2 separate regions of the Homo sapiens genome follow, and region 1 is linked to region 2. Evidence: promoter capture Hi-C in human tissues and cell types (Jung and others, 2019). All regions are on one chromosome and are shown on one strand. The core of a region is centred on a gene start or on the middle of the fragment in contact, and the rest is flanking DNA. Distances in the headings are between cores, read along the strand shown. Region 1 overlaps VPS8 (VPS8 subunit of CORVET complex). Region 2 holds the start of C3orf70 (chromosome 3 open reading frame 70).

The links. Contacts are between HindIII fragments. The study calls those that stand out against the background at their distance.
Region 1: a fragment that was not itself captured here is called in contact with the fragment with the promoter of C3orf70 in region 2 in 2 of the 25 tissues and cell types used here (aorta and hippocampus).

Annotation. Positions count from the first base shown.
Region 1 is chr3:184,982,278-184,988,496 of GRCh38, reverse strand. It overlaps VPS8 (VPS8 subunit of CORVET complex), which reads right to left. Exons shown (of 48, transcript NM_001009921.3): 41 at 5,850-5,931; 42 at 5,403-5,485. Among named protein-coding and RNA genes, the nearest start is that of C3orf70, 170 kb to the left of the region's middle. The HindIII fragment of the contact is 4,374 bases long and covers 688-5,061 here.
Region 2 is chr3:185,148,185-185,154,353 of GRCh38, reverse strand. It overlaps C3orf70 (chromosome 3 open reading frame 70), which reads left to right and starts at 1,294. Exons shown (of 2, transcript NM_001025266.3): 1 at 1,294-1,726. The coding sequence starts at 1,531. RefSeq lists an enhancer at 1,109-1,248 and a silencer at 1,669-1,888. The HindIII fragment of the contact is 5,340 bases long and covers 1-3,082 here.

The DNA.
Region 1 (6,219 bases), core at 1,625-4,124, 170 kb after region 2:
AAAACCCAGAAATAGACCCATATGAATATGGTAAACTAAGCAAAGGCAATTCAATGGAGAAAGGGACAGTCCTTTCAACAAGCAGTGTTGGAACTAGTTCCAACTGTGTATATTCACATGCAGAAAAATGAATCAACACTGACCATATATTTTCCCCCAAAATTAACACAAAATGGATCATAGCTCTAAGTGTAAAATGCAAAAATACAAAACTTTTAGGAAAAAACAAATGAGAAAAATCTGGGTAACCTTGAGTTTGGTGATGAGTTTTTACATACAACATCAAAAGCATATTCCATGGAAGAAAAAGTCAATAAACTAGACTTCATTAAAAGCAAACACTTCTGCTGTGTGAAACACACTGTTAAGAGAATAAAAAGACCAGCCACAGAGTGGGAGAAAATATTTGCAAAAACACGCATGTGATAAAGAACCTTATCCAAAATATACAAAGAATCCTTAAAACCCAACAACAAGAAAACAAACACTTCAAAAAGCACGTAAAAGCTCAATATCACATGTTGTAAGAGAACTACAAATTAAAACAATGATGAGACTACTACACGTCTACTAGAATGTCTAAAATCCAAAACACTGACAATACCACATGCTGCTAAGATATGGAGCAACAGGAACTTTCATTCAGCGCTGGCGGAAATGTAAAATGGTATAGACATTTTGGAGCAGAGTTTGGCAGTTTCTTACAAAAGTAAGCATAGTCTTATATAATCCAGCAATCACATTCCTAGGTATTTACCCAAATGAGTCTAAAACTTAAGTCCACACAAAAAGCCTGCATATGAATGTTCATAGCTGTTTTACTGAAAATTTTCAGAACTGGAAGGCAACCAAGATGTTCTTTGATAGGTATGTGGATAGACAAAACTGTGGAACATCCATACAATGGAATATACAGAGATAAAAAGAAATGAACTATCAAGCCCCCAAAAGAAATGGAAGAACTTTAAGTGCATATTGCTAAGTGAAAAAAGCCAATATGAAAAGACTACGCACTCTATGATTCCAACTATATGACATTCTGGAAGAGGTAAAACTATAGGGACAGTTAAAAAAAAAAAATCAGTGTGGGCACGGTGACTCGCACCTGTAATCTCAGCACTTTGGGAGGCAGAGGTGGGCAGATCACTTGAAGCCAGGAGTTCAAGACCAGCCTGGTCAACATGGCAAGACCCCATCTCTATTAAAAATACAAAAATTAGCTGGGCACGGTGGTGTATGCCTGTAATCCCAGCCATTTGGGAGGCTGACGCATGAGAATCTCTTGAACCTGGGAGGTGGACGTTGCAGTGAGCAGAGATCACGCCAATGTACTCCAGCCTGGGTGACAGAGTGAGACTCTGTCTCAAATAAAAGAAAAAAAATTAGTGGTTGCCAGGGGATTAGCATAGGGAGGAGGATGAATAGGTGGAGCACAGGGGCCTTTTAGAGCAGTGTATGATATGGTAATGGTGGATATAGGACATTATGCATTTGTCAAAACCCATACAACTGTACAACACAAAGGGTGATTGCTAATGTAAACTATGGACTTTAGTTAATAATTATAATATATCAATATTAATTCACCAATTGTAACAAATATACCACACTAATACAAAAATGTTAACCGTAGGCAAAACTGAGTGTGGGAGGGAGAAGGGGTAAAAGGGAATTCTCTGTATTTTCTGTTTAATTTCTCTGTAAATCTAATACTGCTCTAGTACTTAATAATAGAAATACTAAACCTCAATGAAAGGCCTGGTTGTGTAACTGAGGCTTGCTGACTGATGCAGCTCCATGGAGAGTGACAGGACAGCTAGCCAGCCTTTTTCTTGAGGAAAACCTGAAGCATCCAATCTGTTTAGGGTTTATTCCTCTGAGATCATTCAGTGTCTCAAGAAAATGAACCTCTGTCTCCTTCATGAGAAGTGAGTGCGTCTGATGGCTGCTGGAAGGGGGAAGAGGAGCACGGGGAATACCATCAGCAGACTTTCCCCAAATCCTCATTTTCAGCCCTGTGTTTTACTCCCCTCCCCTTGTGTCTGAGTCATTCCTCTGCTAAAAATCTTGATGACAACTGATTTTAGAATAAAATCCAAACTCCTTATCATGAATTATAAAGCAATTAAAGACACAGTCCCTGCCTATCTCTCAAATTTCAGCTCTGTAATTTTTCTTTATTCTTATCCTATGTTCTGAGCACACTTAAAAAACTTGTAACTTTCCAAAAGTACCATGCTTTCACCTCAAAGTCTTTGTGTATATAGAATAATCCTACCTCCTTTCTTTCCTTGATTTCCTTAGACTCTTTTAAGAATCAGCTCAGACATCTCCTCTTCCAGGAAATCTTTCCAAATTTCCTACTCTGTTTCAGGTATATACTTTTATTGGTACTCCTTTGGTCATATATAGCCATAAATACCACTCAATCTAACTTACTCAAAAAAGTTAATTATTGTAAAGATGCTAGGGTATTTCACAGATCTAAGAAGAGGAATGCTGGTAAGTCTTAAGAGTCACAATGAGAGACTCATGTGCATCAGCTTTTTCTCCCCACATGGTCTCCTCTCCTCGTCTCTATGTCTTGAATCCTCTTTATGCATTGTATCCATTTGTGTGTCTCTTCTTAGTGTCTACTACATTCGTCTCCTTCTCTCTACAGATTATGCTTTTTCACTCTTCCAGTCCATATAATGGAAAAACAGGAACTGTCCGTTCCTGAAATTTGTACCTGATGTAATCCAGAGACTTAACGAGAGACTTATAGATCTTTTCCAAGTTCAGTTCCAAAATGTCCTGGAAAGCACACTGATTGGCCTTGTTTAGGCCATTTGCTCACCCCGAGTCAATCAGCTGGACCCAGGAGGCAGGGTCACACTTTCCCACAGCTCCTTCTGCTCTTACACAGATTAAGTATAGAAATGTAGGCATGGCAATTATCCTATATGGATTCAGAGCAGATAATCCTAAAGGTGGCCACTATTACTTGAATAGAGCCCTATGAATAGTTGTATCAGCACATTTTTTGTCTCTTAAATAAGAGCTCTTATGGGTTCAGAACTATGCCTTTCATCTAAACAGCATAACATACAATTAATATATTTAATTAATAATGAACTCAAAAGACCAGGGACATAAACAAATAAAAAAAGCTCACATGACATAATAAAAAAGAACGTGAATTAGGAAGTGAGAGACTTAGGGGGTGGTCCAGGTTCTGCTGCTAATGATAGGCTAAGAACTCAACTTCTCTATACTTCAGTTTCTTCTTTTTTCAGCAGAAATGTTTATAGTAGCCCTGCCTACCTCAAGGGATTGTTGTGGGCTTCAAATGAAATGATATCTGTGAAAGCACCTTGAAAAATAAAAATCTCTGTACATATATAAGGTAGCATAATTACAGTAATCACAAACATGCAAATGAGGAATTTAAGAAATAGCATACCTTCCTGATTAGTGGGAGTTAACAACCATTGAAAATAGAAAATGATAAGAAAAAATTATAATGAATGCCAGTATAACTCAAAATAAAGTGAAGATTTTCAAATATCAAGAGACTTCTAGATTCCAAAGTCTTGAAATATAAAAAATTTTAAAAATCATGTTTTTGCCAAGAGAAAAACATGTTTTTGTTATAATTTACATATCATAATGTGTGGTTAAAGCTCAATATAAAGCAAAATGTATAGCACAGAGAGAACCCATTTGGCTTTATGATTTCATTTCTTATAACTTACTTGGAAAAGTATTCCTGCCCTTATGGAGATATTACTTTATACATGATTAGAAACCTCATAAGTAATGAGCTTTAAAATGGATATGTGAAGCAGTCTATATCAAAGAATTATTCAACACATGATAATTGCTAAGATCAAATGAAATAATACATGTAAAAATGTGTTCTGGCCGGGCGCTGTGGCTCATGCCTGTAATCCGAGCACTTTGGGAGGCTGAGGCGGGCGGATCACCTGAGGTCAGGAGTTTGAGACCAGCCTGACCAACATGGAGAAACCCGGTCTCTACTAAAAATACAAAATCAGCTGGGCGTGGTGGCACATGCCTCTAATCCCAGCTACTCGGGAGGCTGAGGCAAGAGAATCACTTGAACCCAGGAGGCGGAGGTTGCGGTGAGCCAAGATCACACCATTGCACTCCAGCCTGGGCAACAAGAGTGAAACTGTCTCAAAAAAAAAAAAAAAAAGTATTCTAAATGATAGTATACCATGTAATGACAAAGACTACAGGATGTAGTCATCTTTATCAGAAAAGCCCCAGAAGCTTAATATCAGATGGGAAGTAGAGTTTTTTTTTTTGAGACGGAGTCTCGCTCTGTTGCCCAGGCCGGAGTGCAGTGGCTCGATCTCGGCTCACTGCAAACTCTGCCTCCCGGGTTCACGCCATTCTCCTGCCTCAGCCTCCCAAGTAACTGGGACTACAGGCGCCTGCCACCATGCCCGGCTATTTTTTTGTATTTTTAGTAGAGACGGGGTTTCACCGTGTTATCCAGGATGGTCTCGATCTCCTGACCTCATGATCCGCCCGCCTCGGCTTCCCAAAGTGCTGGGATTACAGGCGTGAGCCACCACGCCCGGCCAAGCTTGGTGAGTCTTAAAAGAGCTGACAGGAACATTCTTCATTGAATAAAAATCATTTGAAAATTATAAAGACTAATGGCATCATATTACGGTTTGCTTTGTATGTGTGTGGGAGGGGGGCGGGGTGCATGCACATGTATGCCTATACTGAATAAAGTGAGGATAGACAAAATGGATTCTAAGTATAATTCCTGTTGTTTCCCCAAGAATGCTCACAGGTTTTTTTCTAAAAATATATCTTGGAGTATTTTGAGTGTTCTCTTTTGATGAAGCCGAGAAGGTTCAGGCTTTTTTGTTGAAAGAAGCAAACCAAAATAATGCTTCCTACAAAAGCTTTGGACACAAAGCCAGCTAGAATTTAGAGTCAAGGATGAGTATTCAAGACAAAAATAATTTTAGGATGAGTTAGAAAGCCTAAATAACAACCAATGCTTAGGAAATTCCTGTATTAATTTTTAGATTATCTTTTTGGAATCTAAAAATTATAATCAGCTGATAACTCCCTCCCAGTTAGCAAACCAATAGGAAACTTGTATATCTGAATCCCAAGGCAACAGGGAATATCTGAAGGCCGCACGCCCTAACTGAAGGTCACAAGCTTATGTCAGGCAAAGTCACACCAAAAAACTGACAGAAAAGATTCAAGAATGAGGGTCGGAAGTTAGATATTTAGATATTTAGCTATTGCCAAAAATTAGCTGCATTATGCTTGAGATCCATTTAAATATTAGCCCAATTCACTGTTATTTATATATAACTAAAATGTTAGTTGAAATCAATATTTAATATTCACCCCTTTTAACTCACCTGTAAGATTCTTTGCAAGATTGATGGAAGGGCAATAAATGCTGCCATGCTATTTAAAACTTGCATGGTCAAAGACTTCAGAGCTGTTATAACAAAATATTAACATTAAGGTTAGTTTAAAATAAGAGTTTTCAGTTTTTCCTATAAGTCTGTGGAAAAACAGTGCATTTATATAGCTTCTTAGAAACTTAGCTAACCAAGGCCTCTTTGATATTTTAAAATTAACTGTTGACAAGTTACAAAGACTACAATTACTTAAGATAAATTATATGAGTGGAACATCAGAAAGAAACATGAAAGATGAGATCAACCATACTATATGGTTTCATTAAGGAAAAATCATAAGAATATGCTATTGGAAAAAGATATTATACTGATAGTTTCTGCAGACAAATATTGGACTGATGATACAGGTGGACTCAGTCACTTGAATTCTGAAGAACTTACCTTCAGAGTGTAGATGAGGAATGGCTGAACTGGACAGCTTCTGAGGGGCCATCATTGCCTCCAATAACGGAAACCAAAGTGCCTATAATGTCAGAGAAAATCAAAGAAAAAGAAAAGTGGTCAAAGAAAACAATGAAAAACAAAAGAATAACTAACATCAGCATGATGTTTTACAGGTTGAAACGTACTTCTCACATACATTTGTTGGTAAACATTAGAAAAAATAAAAATGGAAATATTTGGGGCAAAAAAAAAAAAAGACAATACAAAGCAGAAACCACAGCTAGAACAGGCATCTTTATCATGAAGCCCTGGGAAACGTAAGGAGGCCACTGTTAAGTAAGTCTAGGCCTCGGAACTGCAATCTTAT
Region 2 (6,169 bases), core at 45-2,544:
TGTCCCCAGGAGGGAAGAGTGCGAGCCAACTGTGTGGGGAAGCCGCAGCCACCACAGGGTCAGTCACACCTGCTGGCCAGAGCAGGCGCTAACACAGAAAGGCAGAGTCCTCCGCATACATGAGTCCTGTTTGTGTGCCCACCCACTCCTATGTACCACACACACCCGATTTGATCCGTATATGCCATGTGCACACTCGACATGCCAGATACACGCACTGCACTGCCACACATATACCATACACACACCACTCTGTATTACTAAGCATACCCACCCCCACAACACGTGCACAAGCACATGCACGTCCAACTACACACATATACATATTCTGCACGCCACACACACTCAACCACACACACACCACCCACACTCCACCTCAGTTATAACATTCATTTCACATACACACGTATACACACACCTCACCAGTCACTTGCATCACGCATACCACCCACCATGTACCATGAACACACCTAACCACACACAACCACACACGCATACCCACCATACATACTCCAAATAATCATACACACGCACGCAACACACACATCCCATGCACACCAAACTACACATACGCAGACACACACACACATCAATGCACCCAGCTTTGTTGCTTTCCCGCTCAACGGAGGCGGGGGTGGGAGGAGAAGGGGGAGGGGCTGCGGTCCCGGCGAAGGTTGGGGCGGGCGCGGGAAGGCCCGGGCGCACTGGCCTGGGGTTTGGGGCGAGGCGGGCAGGGGTTGGCGGTGCTGGCCCCTGACGCGCCCTGTGGCCGCGCTGGGGCAGGAGGCCCGCCCTGGGTGGGGGGAGTGCGCGCGTGTGCACGAGCGTGTGCGCGCCTCCCAGGGGCTCCATGCCCAGACACGGGGAGGTGTGTACGAGGGAGATGTGAGACGCCTGTGGGGACAGGCTGTGTGTGTGAGATCCTCGCTACGCGATGCACCCGGCCCGGGCCACTAGGAGGTTCGGGTGGGCGTGGGCCAGGTGTGCGCAGCCCTCCGTGGAGCGTGTGGACGCGTGTGTCAGTTCTCGGTGGCCAGTGTCACTCGGGGGGAAGTGCATATGTAGGCTGGCGTGCATGTGAGTACAAAGCGGCCGAGGAGTGTGTGTTCACCACGGCCCTCCGTCGGGGTCTTTCTCCGAGGAAGGAGTGAGTATGTGAGGAGGACCTCGCTGTGACCGGCGGGGACGCCGACGGCCAAGCTCCCCAGCGGCGTGTGTGTGAGAAGGCCGGGCTCGCTGAGGAACGTCGCGCGGGGCCGACCGGCGCGCGCCTGTGCGCGTGCGTGTGCGCGTGGGGCGCGGCGCGCGCCGCGCCGGAGGGAGGGAGGCTGCCAGCCCGGACCCGGTCGCAGCGCCCGGGGCGGCTCCTCCTCGAGCCTGGGACCGCCGCGCTCCCGCCGCCGCCGCGTGCTGGCGTGACTCCCGGCCCGTGCCGCGCCCTCCCGCGTCCGCAGCCGGCTCGGCTTCCTGCCCACCCAGACGTCGCTTCTCCCGGGCTCCCGGTGTCGGCTCCGCGCGGAGGGAGAGGAAATGAGTGCGGCGGCCTCGCCGGCGTCGGAGCGGGGTTGGAAGAGCGAGAAACTAGATGAGGCTCAGGCCCTGGCGCGGAGTTGCGCCGCCCGCAGACCCGACTTCCAGCCGTGCGACGGGCTGTCTATCTGTGCCACGCACAGCCATGGCAAGTGCTTCAAGCTGCACTGGTGCTGTCACCTAGGATGGTGTCACTGTAAGTCGAGCCGCGTCTTCCCGCCTTCCGCCGCGGTCCGGGGGACGCCCGCCGGGCCGTCCGGGGTCGCTGCCGGAACTCTGCGGCCGCGGGGCTCCGGGCTCTGCCGGGGCTGCTCTGCCGGAGGCTGGGGCCGCCGTGGGCTCCGGGCCCGCCGGAGCTTTCCTTGCGCCGGACGGCTGGGGTTGGCGCTGCCTTGACGACGAGATGAAATCCCGTGGGGCGCCTCGCTTTCTTTAGCTACTTCTACAAAAGGGAGCTCCCTGTCCCAGGGAAGCGGGAATCTGGTTTTTTTTCTTTTCTTTTTCTTTTTTTGACCAAGGCGTCCAGGCGGTGTTTTGAGAAATGGGAGCGAGCCAGCTGAGTTGGCGACAGCTGTTGGGGATGCCTTTTTTCAAGGTTGCTGGTTAAAGATGCTCCTCTTTTTCTTTCTCACTTTTGTCTTCCTGGGCTGCTATTTAAAAGAAGGAGCCCTTGGATATCCAATTGTTTCCCCCTTGATTGTACCCAAATTGAGAAAAAGCGCTAATGTGGGAGGGATTGCTTCCAAGAAGTTAATATTAACAGTTTGGAAGGTCGAGCTCCTTAAATACCCAGATGTAGAATTTAGAGCCAAATAAATGAGACTTATAAAATTACAAAATAAAATGAGTGAAAGTAAGCTTAATAGTCTTAAACCAATTTATAAAAGCTAGAACCAAATGGTCTAAACCCTTTCTCTGTGTTTAGCCTCCTGCCTGTGATTTTTAAATAGATTAAACTTAAGTAGCCATTTAATTAGAATTTCACAATTTGATTAGCTAATAGTATTTGGACTATATCCGATGAATCATTCATTTTAAGAAATATATTCTAAAGTTAGTTTCCACATATATTTGTAATAGAGGGTTTTGGAGTGCTTATTTAGGACATTTTCCAAGTGATCTTAAGTTAAAATGAATTTTTCTTTGTTGAGAAAAAAATAGCTGACAACCAGGAATGCAGTACATAACAAATCCTTATTTACATTAATCGAACATAAATGAATATTTTAAATCGAATTTATGAATTCAAGGATAGAGGATCATTTTCTTTACAAATTCCAGGCACATAGAACAGTATTGATTTCTGGTGTTCCATTTGCTTATGGGCCAGTTTCTTCCTATTTCTCATTATTCCTGTTGTGCTCAGATCTGTTCTCTTTTGTTAGTATAAAGCATTGCTTCACGGTGGGACAGGGTACCGAGTTGGAAGTAGCAACTCTAGGAAACCTGGGATGCTGAAGTGCACAAGTAGAATCTGGACTTTCATTCATTTCGTGGGAAAGTATAGAATCGTTGTGTAAAATGTGAGGAATGTTCAAGATAGTCCAGGTTACTGTCTGTCTTATTTTGACAGTGTCTTCTCTAAGTACACCGTTACTGATGGGAACCTTGCAGTTTTCTCAGACAGCTTCTCCCTTCATTAGCCTTGACTCTTAAAATACTCTTCCTTATATGGAGCTGAAATCAGTTACTTTCTAACTTCTTTCTTCTGCTCCTATTTCTGCCTTATGAAATCATATAGAACAATTGAATCCTTTTTTAGATCATGGCTGTTTCAACTCTTCATATATACATTGCTGAATATACATATGAATGTCTTGCACATATGGACTGTCTTCTCTCTGTATCCCTGGCCATTCTCACAATGTCTTTCCTGAAATAGGTTTAACAATAATGTTCATTGAATGACTGAATGAAGCTAGTGATCATCTTTCTCTTAAGGCATTTCTTTGTCCTATTTATACATTTCCAGTCCCTTCTGCCTTTCCTTTTATGGAATAGTATTCAGGCTCCTAAGCATCTTGGTTGTTCTCTTCTGAACATGTGCCAAGGTGGTTTTGATCCTTTGAAGACTGTGGCCCCTAGAAAGGTAGACAATATTCCAGTTGTGGTCTGATCAGTCTAGAGTTGAACAAGACCACTACCTCCCATGTTCGAGATACTGCTATTGCTGCAGCTAGCATCACATTAGCTTTTCTGATATCTTCATCACATACTGAGCTTGCTGCTGTCAGATTGAACTAAGCTTGCCATCAAAGCCATTGAGCTGTTTTGTTTTTTTTTAACATATGTGACAAGCCACTGTTTGCCCATCTCACACTTATATTTTTGGACACAGGTACTGATCCCTTAGATATCTTTTCCTATTAAATTTCATTTCATTAGAATGAGCCTAATTTTGTGTGTGTGTGTTTTTAGATCCTGGCTCTTTCTTAATATATTTATAAGCTGTTTGTCCTAGGTTCATGTCATCCACATACTGGATACCAACAGTAGTACAGTACATGTTCATAAAAGTTACTGATAAAATTGTTGAACAAGAGAAAGCCACAGATAGAGTCCTGAAGCTTGCGGGTAGAACTGCCCTTCAGGTTGATAGCAATTCATTAATGAGCACTTGTTAGTTATGATTGTTCAAACAATTACCTAGCCACCTAGTTGCACTGTTATCCATCTTATATTTATCTTGTATATGGGTGTAATGAAAACCTGGTCAAATACCTTATTGAAATCCTACCAACACACTGTTTTTACTGCCTCTTTTTGATCTGTGACCTATCTGTACATACACTCTTTTTTTAAAAAAAAACAAGAAATTAGGTTAATCTGGTAAAACTCAGGTTGATTCCACAAATGGTTACCATTTTCTTTTCTAAATGGTTAGAAACTGTTTTAAAATAAATAATCTGAATTTAGAAAAGGATTGACGTCAAGTATACTGGACTGTCGTTGGCAGTTGTTTCTGTTTTTTAAAAAATCAGGACTACAGTTATTTGTTCTTTTCCAGTCTTTGGCAGTCCTCCGGTTCTCCACACTTCCTCCACTGGCAGCAGCTCAGTGATCCCATTCACTAAAAGCTTGACTTCATTTAAAGCAGCTAGGTGCTCTGTTACAATCTCCTCAGTTATCCTGGGAATTAATTCTCTCTATGCTTTTTAGCCCAAAATAAGCAGAGTTAACATGTTTGAGAAGTTCTCCTTTCTTTTTGGTATTCATGGAGTTTACAGTATCAGTCCTAAGCAGAATTCCTTTAATTCTGTTGAACATATATTGAACACCTTCTCTTTATGAGACATTATTTTGGAAACTCAGAATAAAAATATGAATACAGCTGGACCACACTGGACCCCATATGGACCATTATGGACCCTATATGCAGAGTCTAAGGACACAATCATACTGTATTTACTGTTTTTTTTTTTTTTTTTTGGGAGACAGAGTTTCACTCTTGTTGCCCGGGCTGGAGTGTAGTGGCGCGATGTCTGCTCACTGCAACCTCCACCTCCCGGGTTCAAGTGATTCTCCTGCCTCAGCCTCCCAAGTAGCTGGAATTACAGGCATGCACCACCACGCCTGGCTAATTTTATATTTTTAGTAGAGACGGGATTTCACCATGTTGACCAGGCTGGTCTCGAACTCCTGACCTCAGGTGATCCGCTTGCCTTGGCTTCCCAAATTGCTGGGATTACAGGCATGAGCCACCATGCCCAGCCCATACTGTATTTACTTTTGTAATTCTTTTAAAATCACAAATGATAGAAGTGAGAAAACTATCAGTTTGTTTGCCAAATCTGAGAATACTAAAATGAGAGGATTATCCTGATGCTTGAAAAAGGTAGATTCAAAACAAGGAAGTTCAGTTTTATGTGGTTGATTTTAATCTTGTGAAATATATAGACTTATAAAATAGAAAAAGCTTAAAAATATGTACATGTCCATAAAAGACATAAAGCACATATACATTCACAGATTCAGTGCTTGGTGCATTATTAAAGGAAATGTGTATTTGGGTAATGGCGCATTTTTGAGGATGTTGCCTGGGAGGAAAGCATCATATGTTCTGTTGGTATCACTGTCAAAAATAGATTATTAAGCTGAATAAACCATGAATCTGAATGTGTAACTTAATTTTTCCCAGTAAGGAGTGATATTGGCTTGAATTAACGAGTGAAGGTTTTCAAGAGGCGTTTTGAGAGAGAAAGAAATACATGGCTTCGCGAGAGAGGAGGGATGGGAAAGAAATCATATGTAGGTATTGTAAAGTAGAATTTTGTGGCTACTTAGAATACTTAGAATAAGAAATTAGATTGGTGGAGGTGGAGATAAGAGTGTATTTGAGAGATATTTGAGGTGAAATCTATAGGGTTAATTAAATTTGGTCGGGAAGGGAGGGGAAGATTATTAAGGTTAACTTCTAGAATTCTGCTTTATGCAGCTGTGGATGGTGGTGCCATTCACTAACAACGAAATACTGAGTAACTAGGATTGGGAGGAAGGTCATGAATCTAGTTTTGGATCTGTAGGATTTAAGCTGCCTTTGTCCTCACATGGTGATGTCGGTAGGCAATTAGATACAGGGATGTAGAACTCAGAGGAGAGGTCTGGGCTAGAAATAATATGTAAGTAATTTACTTACTTA